Linked DNA regions of Homo sapiens: region 1 is linked to region 2. The links are contacts of gene promoters, found by promoter capture Hi-C in blood cells and fetal thymus (Javierre and others, 2016). All regions are on one chromosome and are shown on one strand. Each heading gives the region's core, a stretch centred on a gene start or on the middle of the fragment in contact. The rest is flanking DNA. Distances are from core to core; before and after follow the strand shown. Region 1 overlaps MCU (mitochondrial calcium uniporter). Region 2 holds the start of MCU (mitochondrial calcium uniporter).

The links. The method cuts DNA at HindIII sites, captures the fragments that hold promoters and counts their contacts. A CHiCAGO score of 5 or more calls a contact.
Region 1: a fragment that was not itself captured here is called in contact with the fragment with the promoter of MCU in region 2 in 2 of 17 cell types (endothelial precursors and megakaryocytes); the score reaches 5.7 in endothelial precursors.

Annotation. Positions count from the first base shown.
Region 1 is chr10:72,809,138-72,812,106 of GRCh38, reverse strand. All of the region lies in intron 1 of MCU (mitochondrial calcium uniporter), which reads right to left. Among named protein-coding and RNA genes, the nearest start is that of OIT3, 83 kb to the left of the region's middle. The HindIII fragment of the contact is 4,167 bases long and covers 1-2,969 here.
Region 2 is chr10:72,690,737-72,693,458 of GRCh38, reverse strand. MCU (mitochondrial calcium uniporter) reads right to left here and starts at 1,316. Exons shown (of 8, transcript NM_138357.3): 1 at 1,158-1,316. The coding sequence starts at 1,307. RefSeq lists silencers at 729-818, 839-888, 979-1,438 and an enhancer at 1,639-1,698. The HindIII fragment of the contact is 1,146 bases long and covers 516-1,661 here.

The DNA.
Region 1 (2,969 bases), core at 187-2,686, 120 kb before region 2:
CTCTCCATGTTAAAAAAAAAAAGCACTATAAACATCCAAAATGAATAGGTAAATAATATTATTTCCTAAAATACATTCAATATAGGAAACTGTTTTCAAGTGTATCTAGTACATAAATGACAAGGAACACAGGGTTGGCTGAATAAAATTTATTTTTTAACTAAACAAGAAGGAAGATACAGGGAAATGTTTCTGAATATATCTGTAATAAAGGAAAAGACAGCATTCAGAATTCTATGTATATGAAAATAATACTGAAAAAGCCAGTATGGTCTTTTGGTAAAATTCTTTTCAAAACATGTTATCTTGAGAAATTATCTTTTATCTTCAAAGATAAGTTAGTTAACATGAAATTTATTTTGCAAAAATTCAAAACATTATCATTACTTAGTCTCTTAATACAGAGATAGAAGAAAATCATTAAATGATAAGCTCAAAGACAACTTACACATTTTAATTAAGTGGGCCTTTTCAATCAAACTAAACTGAGTGAAAGATTCCTTTCCTCTTGCTCTGGAACTCTAATGTCATTGAAAGAAAAGCAAAGAGAGATTGAGTAGCTGCTTAGTTAAGAAAAGAAAATCCAATTGTAAGAATAATCTGAAGGGACCCCACAGGTCTTACAAAACAAGTCTTATTATTCAGATTAGTAGAGGACCAAGTCTATTGGTTATATTGGCCCTCTTCTCATTGAACAACTACAACAGACACAAAAAAATGTTTGTCATAAAAATGTCAACTCACTTCAACAAAAAACACACATGAACACATTAACAAGTTCGCAACAAATTCTATTTTGGCTCATTGCGTCTAGAATGCAACTATCCTTTAACATCAATAACCTTTTTCTCAAACAACAGCCACCACAACCGAACTGAAAAGGCAATCTAGACTTAAATCTTATCAACTATTTTATAGCCTATCTTTCCTACATTATAAATTACGCATTTTCGCCTTGAGAAATTGGCAGTAAAAGATTCATGTTTATTTTGGTTCAAAGGGTGACCCCAGTTGGTAAACTAATAAAGTATACACTGAATAGCTATTTCTAAAAGCATGTGCTGAGCAGGTTGGAGGTTTCTTACTGGATATAACCAATAGAAGTTACCAAGTCTTTTCAATATTCTCCAGGCCTATTGTCCTTTCTCTACTATCTCCATACTCAGTATAAGCCTTATTTTAACTATGTTCTCTGGCATTTTGGTTTCCTTGACCTCCTAGACCTACTGTGCCAATCCTTACTTTCTGGTAAATTTATTTCATCAACTCCTGCTGTGGGATAAAGCAAGGCCTATGAGAAAAAGGCAACACAGACCAGGCGCAGTGGCTCACACCTGTAATCCCAGCACTTTGGGAGGCTGAGGCAGGTAGATCACCTGAGGTCAGGAGTTCAAGACCAGCCTGGCCAACATAGTGAAACCCTGTCTCTACTAAAAATACAAAACAACAACAACAACAACAACAACAACAACCTAGCTGGGCGTGGTGGCAGGCGCCTGTAATCCCAGCTACTTGGGAGGCTGAGGCAGGAGAATCACTTCAACCCGGGAGGCAGAGGTTGCAGTGAGCCGAGATTGCACCACTGAACTCCAGCCTGGGCAACAAGAGCGAAACTCCGTCAAAAAAAAAAAAAAAAAAAAAAAAAGGCAACATAATTGTCTTAACTGATGTCACTACAAAATCATGTTACTCACTAAATGCTTTCACATATGTCAGTGGACTCTCAGACTTCTTCCCTACAGAAGTTGTTCAGAACTGTTTCCTGCCTCTCAGTCAAAGACGTCACCTCTTATTTTACTGAAACCAGTAAAATAGGAAATTTCTGAAATTCACCCTCACAATTCCTCTCTTCTCCAACACCAAGTTTCTCTCAATTTTCTTTTTTTCTCTTCTTTCACTCTAACACAGGGAAAGAAGTCTCCCCACTCCTTTGCAAGGTGAATACCTTTACTTCTTCAGTTAGTTCTTCTCTCTTGCATCTTTAATGTCTCCAACTTCAATAGCTCCTTTCTCCAACCTTAGACATGTCTAGTTCTACACTATGTCCACCCCCATACACATATGTTCACGCGCACACACATACAAACACACACACACATGCACACACAGAAGCCTGCCTTCACTAATCCTACTTCCCACTGATATTTTCTCATTTCTCATACTATTATGCCTTCTTGGAAACATTTGATACTGCTGACTACCTCCTCCCTCCTGAAATTCTTTTCTTTGAATTCTATGACACTCTAGGAGTTCCTGAATTTACTTCTTACTCTACTGTCTTTGACCACTTCTATGTCTCCTTTATTGCCTTCTTGCTCTTCCAGCTATCCCCAAAATACTCATCAAGGCTTATTCTTTGCCCTTGTTTTTTCATACTTATTCTGTTTGGAGAGCTCAACCTTTCTTAGAACTTCAAGTTATTATCTCAATGAAAATAATGTCTTGAGTCCTTTCTGTACTGATTTTCAGATTCAAATTTCTAGCTGCTTATTAGAATAGCTCTATCAAATATACCTCTAAGTCCCTGAAGTAAAATATGTTCCCAAACCTGCTCCACTCCAATGTTTCCGATTTCAATTAATTGTACGTCAAACTTTTTGGTCAGTCTCTCAGGCTTTAAGACCCATAGCCATTTTAGAGTCTTCACTTTGTACTCCCAGCCAATTCCAAGTCTCATCAAGTCTACCATCACCCTTTTTGCTTCTTTTTGTTCCTTCTTTTTTCTATGAATATTAATATAATTCAGTGGTTAAGAGCAGAGGCCCTAAAGTCACAAATGGATTTGAATCCCAGCTCTTCCATTTATTAGCTTTGTGGTTTGGAGCAAGTTCCACTGACTGCCTCAAGTCTTAGTTTCTGTTTAGATAAATCCAGATGTTGTGAGGTGACAAAGGGCTAATGCATATAAAGCATTAAGCACAGTGAGCACGTGCCTGGCACTCAAAACAGAATGGTTATTGTTACTACTA
Region 2 (2,722 bases), core at 67-2,566:
TTGAGGGTTGAAGGTACTATTGTAGTTTCTCCTATCAAGCTGTTTGCAGTGATCCTCCAATAATCACACTATACAACTCAGCCCCAGCAAATAAAACCTACATTCTTTCCCTCAGAGCTGGCCAGAGACCAACACATATAGGTCTAGAAAGTCCAAGGGAAGGAAACCTCCTGACTTGTTAGGTTAAGAACTCCATGCCAAATTCATCTCTTGCAATTGAAAAAAGAAATCTCTCTCACACTCTGTCTCTCTCTCTCTCACACACACACACACACACACACACACTCACCCAAGAGTGTTCAAACAGAAATCCTCTTTTTCTGCCAGCCAATGAAACCCAGCAACAACTGGTTAATACAACCACCAAATCTCTGCCTCTGTCAACAACTTACCATATTCGCTTCTCCTGTGCCTGCTGACCACCCTTCCCGCTTCAGGCACGCGTGAACACGCTTATACAGTAGCCCTCGAAAGGACCCCCAAAAGCACCTTTAAGGACCCAAGAGGATGAAGCTTGCCTCCTGAAGCAATGCAGCATCCATCTCGAGGGAGCCGGTTCCCCATGCACACACACAGAGGAAGTCACAGAGGGGAATAAAGTTTGATTTTCCTTCCTGCCCGACCCCTCGGGGACGAGAGAGGACGAGGGGCGGCCCCGCCGGGGTCCTGGGCTGCTCTCCGGGGCAGCTCCCAGCAGCATGGCACTGCCACTCTCCTGGCACACACAAGGCGGCCGCGGCAACTCAGAACTCCCCAACCCGCCCGGAGGAGGAGGGAAAGGGGACAACTTCCATCTGGCTCCGTTCAGGGAGCCTTGGGGCAGGGCTGTTAAGAACGAAGAAGGGAGGGAACGCGATTGGGGGCGAGTCGGGGAGAGGTTCAAGTCCCGTGCCTTCCCCGCCCTGGTGTCCCCAGTCCTGCGGGAACATCCCCGCCGTCGCCCCTCCTCCTCCTCTCGGCTTCCTCCCGCCCGCCCTCCCTTCCTGGTCGCCGCCGCAGGCGCCTGAAGGGCACGGCGGCTCCTCGGTGCCCGGCAACCTCCGGAGCGGCCGGGAGTTGAGGTAACTCGCCTGCTGCCCCGGCGGCCTGCCCGCCGGCGGCTCCCACACGCCAGCGCCGCCCCGCCCTCCCCGGAGCCTCCGGGCGCGCTCGCTCACCGTCCGGTGGTGCTGCTGCTGCCGGTGGCGGCTGACGCCCAGCCCAGGGAAGCAGCCGGCAGTCAGCGCCCCGCAGCCGCCGGCGCCCCCGCCGCCGCCGCCCCGAGAGGAGAGGAGCAGCAGGAGCGATCTACCTGCGGCGGCCGCCATCTCTCAACTGGAAACGGCGCCGACCCAGGCAGCGCAGCGGACGGCCAGGGCGGAGCTAAGACCCGCCACTCACCGACGCCGGGCCAACTAAAGCCCTTGACTGAGTTGATGAGGCGGGGCTTCCTGCAAGGTCCAATCGACAGGCGGGAGAACCACACTGGAAGCTGCCAGTCCCTTCCAGAGTTACCTATAGTGGGACATAGTCAATTACGGGCAAATTCTAGGGAACCCATAATTGACACCCAAACCCGTGAAAATAACAGCAATAGAGATGGCATGTTCAGTTCGGCTAATCTTCACCAACAATAGAGCTATGATAAGAGTAACGGGGGATATAGATATTTGTGAAAAGCTTTGTTCGAAGTTGAGTTCTAAGTGAGTGTTCTAAGTTGGCAAAATAGGCACCAAATTAATAACCATTAACGGTGTATGCTGTAACTCTCAACTACACGCCTAGAATTATCATTCATAACTGATAATATTTAGATATGCTGAAATTAACTCTACATCACGGAGTGATCTAATGACTGTGATGCGTAGCATAATATAGGAGAGGTAGAACGATTACAATATCAAAGTCCCAGAATGAGTACATGCCTTCAGAGTGAATTAACTGACGTGTATACATCTCAAATACCCAATTCATTTTTACAGCACCTTTATACGGATATTCTCACACTCTCCAGAAACAGCACTATTTTATCATATTTGACTTTGTGTGCATTTACAGAAACAGAACACATTAATAACGTAATAAAAAATCATGTAAGGCCGGGCGCGGTGGCTCACGCCTGTAATCCCAGCACTTTGGGAGGCAGAGGCGGGCGGATCACGAGGTCAGGAGATCGAGACCATCCTGGCTAACACGGTGAAACCCCATCTGTACTAAAAATACAAAAAATTAGCCAGGCGTGGTGGCGGGCGCTTATAGTCCCAGCTATTCCGGAGGCTGAGGCAGGAGAATGGTGTGAACCCGGGAGACGGAGCTTGCAGTGAACCGAGATCGGGCCATTGCACTCCAGCCTGGGCGACACAGCAAGACTCCATCTCAAAAAAAAAAAAAAAAATTCATGTAAAAGGCTATTTTAATGATGCTTCATAATTTTGCCGAAATAGTTATCAGAATACGCTTTGGAATAACAAACACTTTCTCTTGAAAAACACTTCTTTCCACTTAAACTCACAATGAGGGCTCCTTGAATACTGCCTAAGAAAGATTTTGGGTCCTGAATTTCCTTAGAAGAGTATTTCCTTGCTAGCTGTTTATTATTATGAGCTGATTAAATTCTCACACCTCTTTTTAAAATCTGGAGCAGGAAAATAGTTTGGGAAGCAAATACAAGCATTATTTTAAATTTTGGAAAACATCTTTGTAGTGTAGCCTTAGATGATAAATTTAAAACAAAAACAAAACA